3 separate regions of the Homo sapiens genome follow, and all the other regions are linked to region 1. Evidence: promoter capture Hi-C in 16 types of primary human blood cells and fetal thymus (Javierre and others, 2016). All regions are on one chromosome and are shown on one strand. Each heading gives the region's core, a stretch centred on a gene start or on the middle of the fragment in contact. The rest is flanking DNA. Distances are from core to core; before and after follow the strand shown.

The links. Contacts are between HindIII fragments. The CHiCAGO score rates a contact against its expected background, and 5 or more counts as called.
Region 2: a fragment that was not itself captured here is called in contact with the fragment with the promoter of GLB1L3 in region 1 in 2 of 17 cell types (activated CD4 T cells and fetal thymus); the score reaches 6.6 in activated CD4 T cells.
Region 3: a contact is called between a fragment that was not itself captured here and the fragment with the promoter of GLB1L3 in region 1, in 1 of 17 cell types (total B cells). The highest score is 5.8, in total B cells.

What each region holds. Positions count from the first base shown.
Region 1 is chr11:134,273,714-134,278,874 of GRCh38, forward strand. It overlaps GLB1L3 (galactosidase beta 1 like 3), which reads left to right and starts at 2,666. Exons shown (of 20, transcript NM_001080407.3): 1 at 2,666-3,050; 2 at 3,613-3,738; 3 at 3,987-4,199. The coding sequence starts at 3,028. RefSeq lists enhancers at 1,825-1,934, 1,995-2,124, 2,275-2,324 and a silencer at 2,775-2,844. The HindIII fragment of the contact is 7,995 bases long and covers 1-4,504 here.
Region 2 is chr11:134,024,390-134,029,550 of GRCh38, forward strand. It overlaps LINC02730 (long intergenic non-protein coding RNA 2730), which reads left to right. Exons shown (of 2, transcript NR_186708.1): 2 at 3,294-4,013. Among named protein-coding and RNA genes, the nearest start is that of LINC02731, 5.3 kb to the right of the region's middle. RefSeq lists enhancers at 1-549, 1,983-2,554, 2,555-3,125. The HindIII fragment of the contact is 3,205 bases long and covers 579-3,783 here.
Region 3 is chr11:134,112,806-134,117,966 of GRCh38, forward strand. The region is part of intron 1 of JAM3 (junctional adhesion molecule 3); the gene reads left to right. Among named protein-coding and RNA genes, the nearest start is that of SNORD153, 36 kb to the right of the region's middle. The HindIII fragment of the contact is 871 bases long and covers 2,451-3,321 here.

The sequences.
Region 1 (5,161 bases), core at 1,416-3,915:
CAACAGATTTTGCATACTTTAACCTTAAAGATATCTCTGCCTCAACTCTTTGTTCACAGCTCTCTGACACTGGAATATTAATAGTTGATAATCTTTCCCTTTAATTTTTCACTGATAATATTAGTTCCTAACCCAGGTTTTTGGATCTCACAAGGGTTCTTATTATACAGTTGTCACATACATTTCTTTAAGAAGTTCAACCTAAGAAGAAATCAAGAATTGTCTTTTCTGGTTCATACATTAACTCCTATAGGGTTGTCCACTACTAAAGCAACAGAAAGTGCTGCCTTCTTTTTCTGGAAGCTGCTGTTCTTACAAGAGAGCAATTTAGGAGCAGGAATTGTGCTTTATTAACATCAAAGCACTGGCACAGGAAGTTTGCACACTCAGCTCTGGGAGCTTTTTGATGCTTTCTGCCTGCTTTGGGAAATTAGCTCTTTGTTTCATTATCAGTTATCTGGATGGAAACTGAAGGGAAAAATATTGATTTTTTTTTTTTTTTTTAATAAATTGTACCAGGATGCTGGGTCTGCGGCCCTAGTGGCTGGTCTTTCCTGTGCTTGGGATGTTGGCCTTGTAGAGTTACTTCTGTAATCTCAAGACAGAAACTGACAGCTTTGTTTGATCAAAATTGTTACTTCACCTTGCACATTTTCAAGAGTTCTACAGGTTTAATGAGCACAGAAATCTGGGGGAACTTTCACTCTCCAGGGCTCCTTCATAGAGGTTCTCAAATACTCCATCAGCAGAGGGGAGCCCCAGATGGCAAAAGGACACAGGATATGTCATCTTTCAAATGAACCAATAATCCATTATTTGATTCTTCTACCTTTGTCAAAATTCCTCCAGCAACGCCTGCAGAAAATCACAATTCTTGATACATAGCTTGTTCCAATAAAGCACCACAGCATTTCTAGTGACTGCAGGCCCAGCTGTCAAACTCTTTCAACTTGATAGAGAATATGTACACAAAACCTATAGCTGTCATCATACTTAATAGTGAAAAACAGAATGTTTTCCAGCTGACACTGGGGACAAGGTAACAGTGTCAGTTCCTGCCGCTCTTATTCAACACAGAAATTTTAGTCATCATACTAAGACACACAAAAAAAGGAATAAAAAGCCACGCAGACTGGAAAGGTAGAAATAAAACTCTCCATATTTGCAGATGACATGATTATCTACATGGAAAATGCCAAGTAATACACAAATAACCTCTTAAAATTAATAGGTGAGTTTGCCAAGGTCACAGGATATGAGATCAACATGAGAAACACAATCACATTTCTGTATGCTAACAACAAACATGTAAAAACTGAAATAAAAATAATAACAGTTTAAATCTCTTGAGAGCAAAGGAAATATTTAAGTATAAACCTAACAAAACGTGATAGGATCTGATGTTGAAAAAATCACACAATTCTGATGAAAGAAGTGAAAAAAAAAAAACTATTTAAATAGACAGACATACCATGTTCGTGGGTTGGAAGATTCAACATAATAAGGATACAATTCTCAATTTGATCCATAGGTTGATTGCAATTCCTCTCGAAATACCAACATGGCTTTTTGTAGAAACAGACAAGTTTATTCTAAATTTTATGTGGGAAGGCACAAGCCCTAGAATACTTTAAACTTGACAAAGAAGAATAAAGTGTGTGGCTGTAAAACCAAACTGTAAAAAATTAACAGTTCATTGCTTGCAGTCGAAAAAATGAGGAAAAGATGGACGATCTAGGAAACTTTCAGGGAGCTAAGGTGTCGGAGAGCAAAGTATCCTTGTAAGGAATGAGACAAGATAAACTCCCTCCCCCACACACAGTATTTTCAGAGAACTACATTCTTGGTTTCAACCTGATGTCATAGGCTGTGTTCTTTGCAACGGAAGAAGCAAAGACTTCAAAGGGAGAAATCGGAAGATTTCTTTTTTCATCGTAGGGACTTCACATCAGCGTTTCCAAAACCGAGTCCATCGCCTTTTCCCTCTGCGCAGCCTCTATCCCTTCCTGTGTTTCGCATCTCAATAAACGTCCCCGCCAAGTGACTTCAGCCTGAAACATGCGGCCTCCCGGACTCCTCTCTGTGTCACCGACCTCTTGCGCTCAGTTCTCCGGAGCTGCCGGTTTAACCTCGCAAGTCTTCCCGGAACCCGTGCCCTCCTCCTGGGCAGCGTTACCACCACGAGCGCCTACCTGAGAGGACGCCTGTTCTCATCCAGCCTCCACCCTGCAGCCGAGCAATCTCCGTAAAACGAACACCTGGCTTAGTTTCTGCTGGAAACCGTTGAATAGTCCCCACTGTCTTCTGGAAGGGTCTGGGCAGCTCGGCGTGGCGTCCACGGCCCCACCAGGCCTCTGCCTCCTGCAGGTCCCGCTACTTCGTCACCAAAGCGCCCGCCGCGCTCGCATCTGCTGTGAGGCTGTGCTCGGGCCGCTCCCGCCGAGGGAACGGCCCTCCCAAGGCTCTGCGCCCCAATTCTCGCTCGTTTGCCAAGAGGTAGCCGTGTCGGGGAGCTAGAGTTCTCCGGGGACTCTCTCCTGCCCCTCGTGGCCCTCTGTGGAACCCTCGTTTTAGGATCTGCACGCCGTTTCCAGTCGCGCGCGCGGCACGGAGACCGCCCGCTGTGCCCCGCGCTGCGCTCTCTCCGCCCCTCTCCCGCGCAGGCCTCCCTGTGCCAGCCGGCTGTCGACCCAGGTTAGGAAGCCCGAGGTCGGGGCGTTACCCCAAGGGCCCTCCCGCTTCCCCTCCGAGGGCAGAGAGGCGTCCGCGCCCGGACGCACTGCGGGAACACCTGGAGCGCCGGCGGAGCTCGGCTGTCCCCGCGGGAGGGAGCCCGACGCGCATCCTTGGGACCCGGACCCGGCGCCCGCGCCTCGGGACGGATTTCTGCCTCGGCTGCAGGCGCAGCGCGCAGACCTGAGCCTGCCCCGCGGAACCGGGGCTCGAGTCCCGGCCCGAGCGCGGCGTCGGGGCCAGCGGAGAGGGGCGGAAGCCGCAAGGGACCCTCGGCGCCTCGGCCTGGCCGCGATGAAGTCCCCGCCCCTCCTCAGGTGACGGATCGCCGCTGCCGTCCCGGGCTGCCCACCACCCCGGCGCGTGCCCGGGAGCCTCCACCCTCCCCGGGTTCTGTGGCCGGCCACGCGCCCCAGGCACGCGCCGCGCCGGGCCGCGCCACCAAGCCCGCTGTCCCCAGCTTTCCTCGGCAGATCCCCTGGCTACCCCCACCCTGCGGAGGGGCCGTTCACCAGATGCCAGAAAATCAGGGTGGGGCACGCAGGCCAGGGGCTCCAGCGGCTGGGCACCGTGTCCTTCCCGAACCTGGTGCTGGAAGTGCGCCCGCCTCCGCCTCTCCCAGGCACCCACCGGCACTGCCCAGCCCTGTCTGGAGGGTCTAGGACTGAACGTCTGTCCCCGGCCTTCATCCTGGCTGCAGAGGACTGGCCGGGTGATGCCGCGCTGTCCTGGCCCTGGGCCCGCCTGGAAGACCCGCCTGTGTCGCGGGCCCCCTCCCTGGCTCTGGCCTCTAAAGCGCCCCCGGCACAGCTTCCCGGCCCTTGCAGCCCGGTGGGGCCGGAACCTTCCCCTTGTCACTGTTGTCCTTTCTCCTTTCAGCCCGTGTCTCTCCTGGAAGAGAATGGCGGGCATCTTTTTCCTGCCATTTATCTCATCAGGTTTTGCTCCTCGGTTTAAGCAGGAAGAGAACTTCATGCTTGGAAGAGCGCATCCGTCCCAGCCTAGGTTTGCTTGAGAGCTACATCCCTGGGGAGGGAGGGGAGCGATCTCTCCTTTCTTGGAGAAAATAGTATCGCGAATATGCACAGAACACGTCCTACTAACATATGCACAGAACACGTCCTACTAACATATGCACAGAACACGTCCTACTAACAAAAACTTCTTTTCGCTAGGGTTTCAGCCGTGCCTCCGAGCCCTCTCCCGAATCCTCTCTCCCTTTCCACTTTCTTTCCCTCGCCCGCCCCCTCCAGGTTTAATTGGTCTCATCTGACCCCTCTGGAGCTGAAGAATCGATCTGTGGGACTTGGAACTGAAAGCACAGGTCGGGGTAAGCCCCACTTCACACTGGAGGGCCACAAGTTCCTGATCTTCGGGGGCTCCATCCACTATTTCCGGGTGCCCAGGGAGTACTGGAGGGACCGCCTGCTGAAGCTGAAGGCCTGTGGCTTCAATACTGTCACCACGTGAGTGCCGGCCCCTCACCTCCAGGATCTCGTTACCCTACAAGTGCATCCTGGCCGGGAACCTGAGCCTCCGATTTTGGGGGCCCAGCGTGAGGACTTACCTTCCGCACAGTCGTTTCCAGCACATACATTTAATGCTTAAGCGTCCAGCTGTCACTTAGTCTCATGCTGAGTTTGCTCTGTGATCAAAGACTTGGATAGGGGTTAGTGGGAGAATCTCAAGGGAGGAGGTTATTTCCTCAGGATTCTGTCTGTCTAATGAAGGAACACCAGGCGCCCTTGGGAGCACTCAGTTTAATGACATAAGCTTAAGGCACACTTACAGATAAATATGTACTTACAGATACATGCATGTTTTTAAAACAAAAAAAAATTTTTTTTTTTGAGACACAGTTTGTTGTTCTGTTTGTTGCTCAGGCTGGAGTGCAGTGGCCCGATCTTAGCTCACGGCAGCTTCTACTTCTCTGGCTCAGGTGATCCTCCTGCCTCAGCCTCCTGAACAGCTGGGGCCACAGGTGCATGCCACCACACCAGGCTAATTTTTTGAATTGTTTGTAGAGATGGAGTTTCGCCATGTTGCCTGGGCTGGTCTCAAACTCCTGGACTCAAGCAGTTCACCCTTTAAAAGGGAACACCACGGTCGTCCTCATGCCTGTATACAACTGACCAGCCACCCTGTATGACCACAAAAAAGCAAAACTGCTCCAGAATCAGAGGCCCTGTCCTCCTGAGGGCCTGCCACCACCATTTTGTGGCAAGCTTACCATCACACTCACTGTAAAGGAGAAGATGCTTAGAGGGCCCTGTGCCTTATTGCAGAGCTGGTATTGAAGGGTGAATTTGAAGCTGAGAGGCAGTAAACTGGTTCATTTAAAATGCAAAGAATTTAATCAGAAATAATCGTTGAGTTTTATTGAGAGCTGCTACTGCATGTATTGGGGGGACAATATAGTTTTTCTTCA
Region 2 (5,161 bases), core at 931-3,430, 250 kb before region 1:
GGGCCCCGACTCCGAGGGAAGACCCTCAACCTCTTCACATTACCACTGGACCATTAAAGGGTTAAAACATCTTTGATCTGGAGCCTCAGCTGCTCATCCTTCTGTTTTAAGGGCCTCTGAATCATTAGCCTTTCCAAGCAGCCTCCCTCTGCCGCCTGAGGCAGGTGAAGTGGGAGAGGGGAGCGGCCCGCCTGGGTCCTGAGTCAGCGCTGACTCCCCACGCTGTCCTCCACAGATTAATCACCTCCAATTACAGCTTCTGACTGGGCACGAGTCATTCCCAGCGGCGCCTCCTCGGGCCGACCCTCGCCCCCCTGCAAACAGGCTGCCTATCCGTCCAACATGCTTGCTGTACTTCCCAGAGCCCCAAAAAGGTACCCCGGCAGCAAATGACTCAAGGATGAGGACCCACCCTCTTCCCCCTCACCATCTGCTCTCAGCAACATGAGTCTTCTGGGGGCAAAAAGAAAAGAGGACATGAAACTCCTCCCTTCCAGCAGCCTACAGAGGCCTGTGCACCCTTCCATTAGCAGGTTGGATAATTCTTCGTGGTGTTTCTCCTCAGCAGTGACTAATAAAGCTTGTTCTCATTTCCACTAATCACACATCCTCATAGAGAAGGGTGACACACACTTGGCGTGGCTCTGTGACACCCCTTGGAAAGTGTTCCATGGCCCACCCAGCCTCTTTTCCTCGAGCCCCGCTCTGGCCTCCCTCACACCTGCCTCCCTTCTGCCCCTGCCAATGAAGCCGGGGCCCAGCTGCCTCGGTGGAATTCCTAAGCATCCTGCTCTTGGCTGCTGACCCGGGCACATGGGCACCCAAGGGCATTATGCCATCTCCCTCCTCAGCGGGTATCACACTGGGCTCCCTGCCCTGAGCTGCCAGCCAAGGGAAGGGCACACAGCCCCGTGGGGCACGAGCCGGGCCTCAGTGCCAGGGTACTGAGTGCATTGCTGTAGTATATGGCACAGTTTACCAAGAACTTTCCCGATTCTTGGGGCACGAGCCGGGCCTCAGTGCCAGGGCACTGAGTGCATTGCTGTAGTATATGGCACAGTTTACCAAGAACTTTCCCGACGTTGTTTCATTTGATCTTTACGTAATCAATAGTGCTCACTATACAATCATCCTCTATAGAACATGGTGTTCCCTAGAGGTAAGAAAGCTGAGGCCTGAAACATGCACGTAGCCCACCCACACTCAATTAGTAAGTGGCAATGCGTGACTATTATGCCATAACCCAGCTCTGGCATTAGGGTCAGAAGCCCTCCCCCACAAAAGTCCTCTCTGTATGAGCTTTAGAATTAGGCAGACTCATGGCTGAATGCTATTCTAATTCCACTTTTTATCTAGTGGTAGATACTGTCCTATGCACTTCGCAAACCGTTTCAACTCATTTAACTCCCACCACTGTCCTCTGCGGCGGGAGTTATCAGGATCCTTAATTTGCAGCTTTGAGAGTAGAGGCCGGGGTCCCCTAGCTCATAAGGGCTGCAGCTCTCATCTGACTCTGGCCCAGGGCCGGACTCTTCACCACTCCTCTAAGCTACCTGGGGCTTCTCCAACTTCTAACGGCACGAACTTGGACAAGTCACGGAAGTTTTCTTATCATTCCAATACTCTCATCTTTTCAATGGCAGGGGTGAGACCACCCTCCCCACAGTGCTGTGTGGGGGTTAGATGGGATCGTGAGAACAGAGTATATAAAACACTGAGCTCTGGCCCAGCATGGAGGGAGCACAAGCTAATAGCACACTCGGCCCCCAGGACAAAGCTGCAAGAGGACAGGGGCTGCGAAGGATGGACCGTGTTAGGAGGAAGATTCCCCGTCCCCTAGTCCTAGAGGTCCACAGCAAGGCAGATGCTAGATCCTGGGGACTCTTGGTTGGGGCAGGCACAGGGAAGCACGCCACCTGCCCCACTCCCCGCCCTGTGTCGTATTCATTCCTCTTTGTAAGCATATCTCTCAAATCAACCTGGCCAACCAGTCCCTGAGATCATTCTGATTCTAAAAAGCAAAATGTCTCTAATTAAGGTTCTTACCTATTGGGGACCTTAGTCATCTTTGAAAAATCTGATAAAAACTATAAACCATTGTTTCAGAAAAATTCACATATACCCAGGGACACAGGCATGCTCTTACAAGTTGAGGTGATCACCAGATCACAAAGGGGTCCGTTGGAGCCTAAGTTTATGAGCCTCTTTTCTGTATAATTAGGAAACATCCTTATAATCTTATCACTAGTATCATGGGGAAAATTGCCAAGTCTTTCCTTTCCTTTTCCTCTCCAACTTCATACCTAGGCTCTGCCCTCCCACACACTCCTACACCAGCCCCCGATCCTGGCTTCCCTCACACTGCCCCGGGCCAGGGCCGAAGCTGCAGCGGTGGTGGCAACAGCATCAGCTGTTGCTAAGGAAGCTGAGAATGCAGGGTGGGGGCCGGAGAGTGGGCAGCAACCCAGCAGGGCAGCACCCCCCATGCATGTCTGAGCACCTTGGGCCCTGGAAACGGTGTTCCCAGCTGGCTGCCATGGCAACAGCAGGCTTCGGAGCCATTCATCTCGGTCTGGACAGCTTCCCCTACTCGCACTAGCGCTTTGTCTCCCTAAGTGGCTAACTGAGGTGTGAAAGGGTCTGTGGTGAGTGGACAAAGGAGCACAAAGGGCAAAAGGTGGGTCATGCGCCCCACACTGGGCAGGCACCCTGGGGGGTCTGAGAGGCCAGGGAGGGGGTCTGGGCCAGCTCCCTAACAGAGGGCCTGGCTGCTGGAGAAGCAGCTCAGAACACAGAGATGGCCATGCCTCTCCCAAAGACCTCTGCCTGTGAGCCTCAGCTACTTGCCCAAGAGCCATCCTAGAAAGGAGAAGTACTGGTTACATCCCAGGTAAGCCAGCAGCCAGGTGACACTTGGTCACTTCTAGATGTGGTAACTAACTGGATTTTTCCTCAGGCTGATAGGGTGCGTAAAAAGGTGAGAGACTGGGCACGAATGGGAGGGTTCCTAAGGGTGAGAGATTGGGAGGGAATGACTCCTGGGCCTAATTTAAACAAAGCTAAAAGACAGATGAAGTCAGAGGTGAATGAAGCAGTTAAGGTCTTGCCTTCAGCTCAAGACCACCCATCTGGTTGTAGGTACTGTTTAGCACTATTGCCATCTGAAAGGACTGTCCTTGGAAGCACTGTCCGTGGGACCATTTATTGAGTGGAGATTAAACATTGTACCTATCTCAACGTCATCTTCAAAGTGAGATTAAGTACCTGAGTGAAGTATTGTCCTCTTTTCACAGATGAGGAAATGGAGGCTTCAAGGTCAAACCCCTTGCCCAGAGACATGCAGCAGAAAGTGATGAAGCTGAGATTTGAACTTGCACCTGTCTGCCTGCAAATCCCATCTCTTCCTGCTGTGCCAGAGACAGCAGAAGGGCCCACGGCTGTGTAGATGTGGCCTATTAGCCTCTCAAGTCTAGAGCAAGCCCCTCAGTGTGGGGCCCCTCCCTAGCCGCACTTCCTGCCACACCTGTCCTTCAAGCAGCCGCCTTTCTTTAGAACCCCACGTCTACTGTGGTGATCACTCTGCATAGCTGCTTTAGAAACATATGAAGATAACAGAAGGATCTCATCTGCAACCCAGAGCTCTCTGTGCCTGGTGGTGACTCCCAAGAAGCTCCCATAAGGAAGAGGTCCCTCAAAGAACACACTGAACACAGTGGACCCTCTGCTGCCAAAACAGGCAGGGAAGCATCTCCTGGAGCCTGCTTGGTCAGCTCTGCTCTCAGAAGCTTGGAGGGCAAACGGGGGTGACTGGACCCAGCTGGAATAATGGAAAGAATGGGAACTAGCACTTAGAAGCACCTACTGTGTTCCAGAAATTCTGGTGCATTTATCTGTGTAGCCTTCAAAATAGCTCTGTTGGGTTGATAGTATTTTTGCCCCATGTTATGGTATAAGAAACTGAGTTCAGAGAGGTTAGGTAACTTGAATCAGGCCATAAAGCACTTAAGCCCAAACTTAACTGGCTCCAACATCTCCATCATTTCTATTCTATCCTCCGACCTCCCCGACACTGTCTGCTCCTTAGGGTCTGTGAAAGTCAGGAATCCCCAACTCAGTCTCTTAGCTGGCTGTCCAAGTAGTCCACCTTCCTCCTCAGGGCTCCCTCACCCACACAGCAGATGGGCATCTTTCATCCTGCAGCTAATTTTATTTCTCTTTTCCCATTCTTCTCACCCTCTTGGCTCAGTCCAAGCAGGAGAGCAGGAGTCAGAGCCAGAAGCCAGAACAAGGCTCTCAGCCCATCTCTTTCTCCAAGGGGCAGGCAGGAAAGGAGACAGTGGGATTCCCATCAATGCTGAGTGCCAAGGAGGGGTCATCAGGAAAGCCTGCAGATGGGGTCTCGGTCCCAGGCCTGGCCCCATTGCAGGGTGAACCCTCTCCAAACTTTCCTCTCTGATCTCCAATTCCCCAGGAGAAGCTCTGACATCCACAGCCCTTGCCAGGATCATGGGGAAGGTGGGGTTGGGGAAGCACACACCCCAAGAGGCTATTATCATTCTGTGGGATGGGCTCTCTGTCTCCGTCTGACTTTTCCTCTCCAGGCCAGAAGTAGACCTCAGGCTCAGCCTGGTTTGGGTGCTATGTCCCTCTTTGAGACCAATTCTTGGGAGGTAGTTTGCAGTCATTGGAAGGGCTCAGGATTAGGAGTCAGAAGACTTATGTTCTGTTCCCATTTCTGCCACCAAAAAGCAAGGTGGGTTGGAATAAGACAGTTTGCCTTTTTGGGCCTCAGTTTCCTCTTCTGTAGTAATTGGGCCAACTAGTCCACTCAGATTCTCTAAATTGCTTCTCTGAGCTCTGGAACTTCCTTATATGTATTCCATACCTCCCTGCCCCTACTGACATGCCTTCCAACCCCAACAGCCCAATGTTTCTATCCTATCCAGACCCTGCCAAAATAGAAAGAGTACAAGGCAGTTGGTTTGTTGGTGTTATGACTTCTTTTCTTTTCAGGCAAGAAGTCAGATTTAAATTGTGCCTCAATCAGCACCGAAGCTGGAATGCTCAAGTCTCCTACACAATGGCTTACATAAAAACAGCTCACCTCTCATTTCTCTCTCTCTTTGTTCTGCTCTTTTCCAATCACTCGGTCAAGTAATAT
Region 3 (5,161 bases), core at 1,636-4,135, 160 kb before region 1:
CCTTCATGTCGTGTAAGAGGATATGACCTCCAATATGAATGGAGAGGGGTAGAGCATGAAATAGAGCATGAAAATCTTGTCTCATTTGAGGTCTGAAGCCACAGACCAAAGAGAAAGTTATATATGCTGTCTTCTGTGTGATGGGCTAGGGCCTGGAGTGGGCTCCAAGTAATACCCAGCAAGGTCATCAACAGAGCACTCCAGTCCAGTGCACTCTGGGAGAGGGATCACTTGAACCCAAGGGCTAGCATCTCGGTCACTTGAATCTTCAGTACCTAGCATGGTAACTGGCATATATTAAGGGATCATAAATGTTTTACTCAATGAATTTCAACAAATGAATCTTTTACAGAGTAGTAATTGACAATGTGGGTTCTGGGACTGGACTGTCTGGTTTTTTTTTTTTTTAATACTTTAAGGGTACATGTGCACAACGTGCAGGTTTGTTACATATGTATACATGTGCTGTGTTGGTGTGCTGCACCCATTAACTCGTCATTTACATTAGGTATATCTCCTAATGCTAACCCTCCCCGCTTCCCCTACCCCACGACAGGCCCTGGTGTGTGATGTTCCCCTTCCTGTGTCCAAGTGTTCTCATTGTTCAATTCCCACCTCTGAGTGAGAACACGCGGTGTTTGGTTTTTTGTCCTTGTGATAGTTTGCTGAGAATGATGGTTTCCAGCTTCATCCATATCCCAACAAAGGACATGAACTCATCATCTTTTATGGCTGCATAGTATTCCATGGTGTATATGTGCCACATTTTCTTAATCCAGTCTATCATTAATGGACATTTGGGTTGGTTCCAAGTCTTTGCTATTGTGAATAGTGCCGCAATAAACATCCGTGTGCATGTGTCTTTATAGCAGCATGATTTATAATCCTTTGGGTATATACCCAGTAATGGGATGGCTGGGTCAAAAGGTATTTCTAGTTCTAGATCCCTGAGGAATCGCCACACTGTCTTCCACAACGGTTGAACTAGTTTACAGTCCCACCAACAGTGTAAAAGTGTTCCTGTTTCTCCACATCCTCTCCAGCACCTGTTGTTTCCTGACTTTTTAATGATCGCAATTCTAACTGGTGTGAGATGGTATCTCATTGTGGTTTTGATGTGCATTTGTCTGATGGCCAGTGATGATGAGCATTTCTTCATGTGTCTTTTGGCTGCATAAATGTCTTCTTTTCAGAAGTGTCTGTTCATATCCTTTGCCCACTTGTTGATGGGTTTGTTTGTTTTTTTCTTGTAAATTTGTTTGAGTTCATTGTAGATTCTGGATATTAGCCCTTTGTCAGATGAGTAGGTTGCAAAAATTTTCTCCCATTCTGTAGGTTGCCTGTTCACTGTGATGGTAGTTTCTTTTGCTGTGCAGAAGCTCTTTAGTTTTAATTAGATCCCATTTGTCAATTTTGGCTTTTGTTGCTATTGCTTTTGATGTTTTAGACATGAAGTCCTTGCCCATGCCTATGTCCTGAATGGTTTTCTTCTAGGGTTTTTATGGTTTTAGGTCTAACATTTAAGTCTTTAATCCATCTTGAATTAATTTTTGTATAAGGTGTGAGGAACGGATCCAGTTTCAGCTTTCTACATATGGCTAGCCAGTTTTCCCAGCACCATTTATTAAATAGGGAATCCTTTCCCCATTTCTTGTTTTTGTCAGGTTTGTCAAAGATCAGATGGTTGTAGATGTGTGGTATTATTTCTGAGGGCTCTGTTGTGTTCCATTGGTCTCTATCTCTCTTTTGGTACCAGGACCAAGCTAAAACACTTTTTAATTTCCCTTTTGATTCTTCTTTGACTTACAGATTATTGAGAAATGTGTTAGTTTCCAAACATTAGGATTTTTCAGATGCCTTTCTGTACTGATCTCTATTTTAATTTCACTGTGGTCAGAAAACAAACTTTGTATGACTTGAATCTTTTAAAACGTATTGTGATTTGTTTTATGGCTCGGAATATGGTCTACCTTGGTAAATGTCCCATTTGCACTTGTCAAAAATATGTATTCTGCTGTCTTTGGGTTAGGTGTTCTATAAATGTGAAGTAGGTCAAGTTAGTCGATAGAATTTTTAAAAATCAGCATTCTTACTGATTTTCTGTCCACTTGTTCTGCTATTGAGAGTAGTGTTGAAATCTCGAACAAAGAATCCTATGGATTTGTTTATTTCTCCTTGCAGTTCTTTTCAGTTTTTGCATAATATATTTTGAAGCTCTGTTACTAGGTACATACATGTTTAGAATTTTTATGTTCTTTTGATGAATTGACCTCTTTATCGATTTTTAAATTTATTGTTATGAAATGACTTCCTTTATCATTATGAACTAACCTTTTTTATCCCTGGTAATATTCTTTGCTCTGAAATATACTTTGATACTAATATAGCCACTCCACTTTTCTTTTGGCTAGTGTTAACTTAGTATATCTTTTTTCATCCTTTTATTTTGAAGCTTTGTATCTTTATATTTAAAGTTGCCTTGCTTTTTTAGGAGAAAATCTAATCTAACAATATATGCCATTTAATTGGGATGTTTAGACTATTTACATTGCGTTTACTGATATAGTTAGGTTTAAGTCTTTTCTCTTGCATTTGTTTTCCTTTGTTTCATCTGTTCTTTGTTCTTTTGTTCTTTTTATGCCTTCTTTTCTATTGGGTAACTTTGTTTGGTCTTTTTTGTTGGTTTATTAGCTATAACTTATGACCTTGATATATTTAAAGAGTAGTGGTTAGGTGTTTTGCAGAAAGTCTTCAATTTGAGTTTATCTGATGTTTTCTCATGATTAGACTTGGTTTATAGATTGGGGGAGGGGGTCAGGTGCTGTGCGGCTAATGCCTGTAATCCCAGCACTTTTGGAGAATGAGGTGGGAAGATTACTTGAGCCCAGGAGTTTGAGACCAGCCTGGGTAACATGTGAGATCCTGTCTCTTAAAAAAAAAAATTAGCAAGGCATAGTGGCACACACCTGTAGTCCCAGCTACTCAGAAAGCCAAGGTGGGAAGATGGTTTGAGTCCAGGAGTTTGAGGCTGCAGTAAGCCATGATTGCGCCACTACACTCAAGCCTGGGTGACAGAATGAGACCATGTCTCAAAATAAATAAATAAAAAATTGGAGGAGGGGATAGATACCATAAAAGTGCAGTGCCCTTCTCATCATATCAAAGGGTATATAATATCATCATGACATGTTGCTGGTATTGCTACCCTGATCACTAGGTTTAGGTGGTGTCTACAAGGTTTCTCCACTGTAAAGTTAGTATGTTTCTTTTTCCCTTTCTATTTTTTAGGAGTTCAGCCCACACTCAAGGAGATGGAAATTAAGCTTCACTTCCTGGAGGGAGGAGAATCAGATAATTTGTGGATGTATGCTAAAATTACCATAATAATTAATAAATATTTCGGTGGATAAGATGTTATGAGGCTATTCAAGTATTCTGATAAAGTTTTTTCATGAATATTGGCAGTCATTAGTGGATGTTCCCTATAGCAGTTATTACTATGGTGTTCTAATGATTATTTCCTATTTCCCTTATTCTTTCTACATTTGTTCATTGTAATTCTCCTGTAAAGAAAATTTGGCCTCTGTCTCTCATTTATTTGCTTATTCATCATTTATGCATATTAGTGTGGATTTATGGGTATTGTATTCTTTGTATTATAATCCAATAGTATCATAATTTTTTTTCTTAAAATCTTCCAGCTTTGGCCACTGGAAGCTCTTTCAGGTGGCTGGGATTTTTTGTCGTTGTTTGTTTTTTAGCACTTTCTTGCTCTCTGACACTACAGGGTGCTCCAGGCTTATCTTGTATTTTCCCTGTCCTAGAATCAGCCATTTTTCAGGGAGCCCTGATTCTTTTTACTAGAGAATGGTATATGGGAAACTAGACCTGGGTACTAGAAATGCTTTTGGTTATCAGGTGTCACTGCTTCTAGGCTCTCGGTGAACAGGGCTAGGAGATACATGTATTTATATCCACGTATACACACATATCTATACTATTTCTCTATTTGTATCTATGTTAAAATAAACATTAGTTTATAGTGGTATGTCTGACTCAAATTCAGCACTACAGGGTTAATTCTAGCATTTTCCCCTTGCATATTCATTCTTTGATGTGAGAAACTTGGCTGTCATTACCTACAACGTATTTATAGTTATTTGTTTAACCAAGACAAGGATATCTGCTCACACCATTTCTACTCAACACCATATTGGAGGTTCTAGCCAATACAACCAGGCATGAAAAAGAAACTTAAAAAAAAAACAATCCACGGCCAGGCACAGTGGCTCATGCCTGTAATCCCAGCACTTTGGGAGGCTGAGGTGGGTGGATCATCTGAGGTCAGGAGTTTGAGACCAGCCTGGCTGAGATGGTGAAACCCTGTCTCTACTAAAAGTACAAAAAATAAAATAAAATAAAATAACCGGGGATGGTGGTGGGCACCTGTAATCCCAGCTACTCAGGAGGCTGAGGCAGAAGAATTGCTTGAACCCGGGAGGCGGAGGTTGCACTGAGCTGAGATCACACCATTGCACTCCAGCCTGGGCGACAAGAGCAAAAAACTCCATCTCAAAAAAAGAAAAACAATCCAAATTGGCGGGGAAGAAGTAAAGCTGTCTTGATGTCTTCCCTTATTAGAGAGAAATATTTGGTAGTTTGCAGTCTGTTCTACCTCAGGAGAGACTGCAGTAAAACTGATGTGAACATCTCAGAATTCAACTGTTTTGTAAATACCACCACCCCTTCCACTTTCCTTCAGCATCCCAGTTACCACTGGAATATTTTATAGCATATTTATTTTTCCTTTAACATGTTAAACCTAAAGCCCAGGTTTTGCAGCTTGAATATGTTTCCTCTTGTTGATATGACAGTGGGATATGACAGTGGAGTGAAACAAAGCAAACGAATAACTGGTCCCTGTCTTCCATGCAATGGTCTTTGATAGGTGAGATTCCCTTATATTTTCAAGTTCGGTTCCTGAAGTAGCTCATCCATTCAGATTCTGAAGAAGGGTGATCACTCCTGCACTGTCTTCAAGATAACAGTGAAGGCTAGTTCCATGTACCTCCGAAGGGTACTGTGAGCCCTAAAGAGGCTATACTGGATGGGGGTTAATGCAGAATGTCTGCAGTTGGAATGCAGGTGTAACTTTGAATTA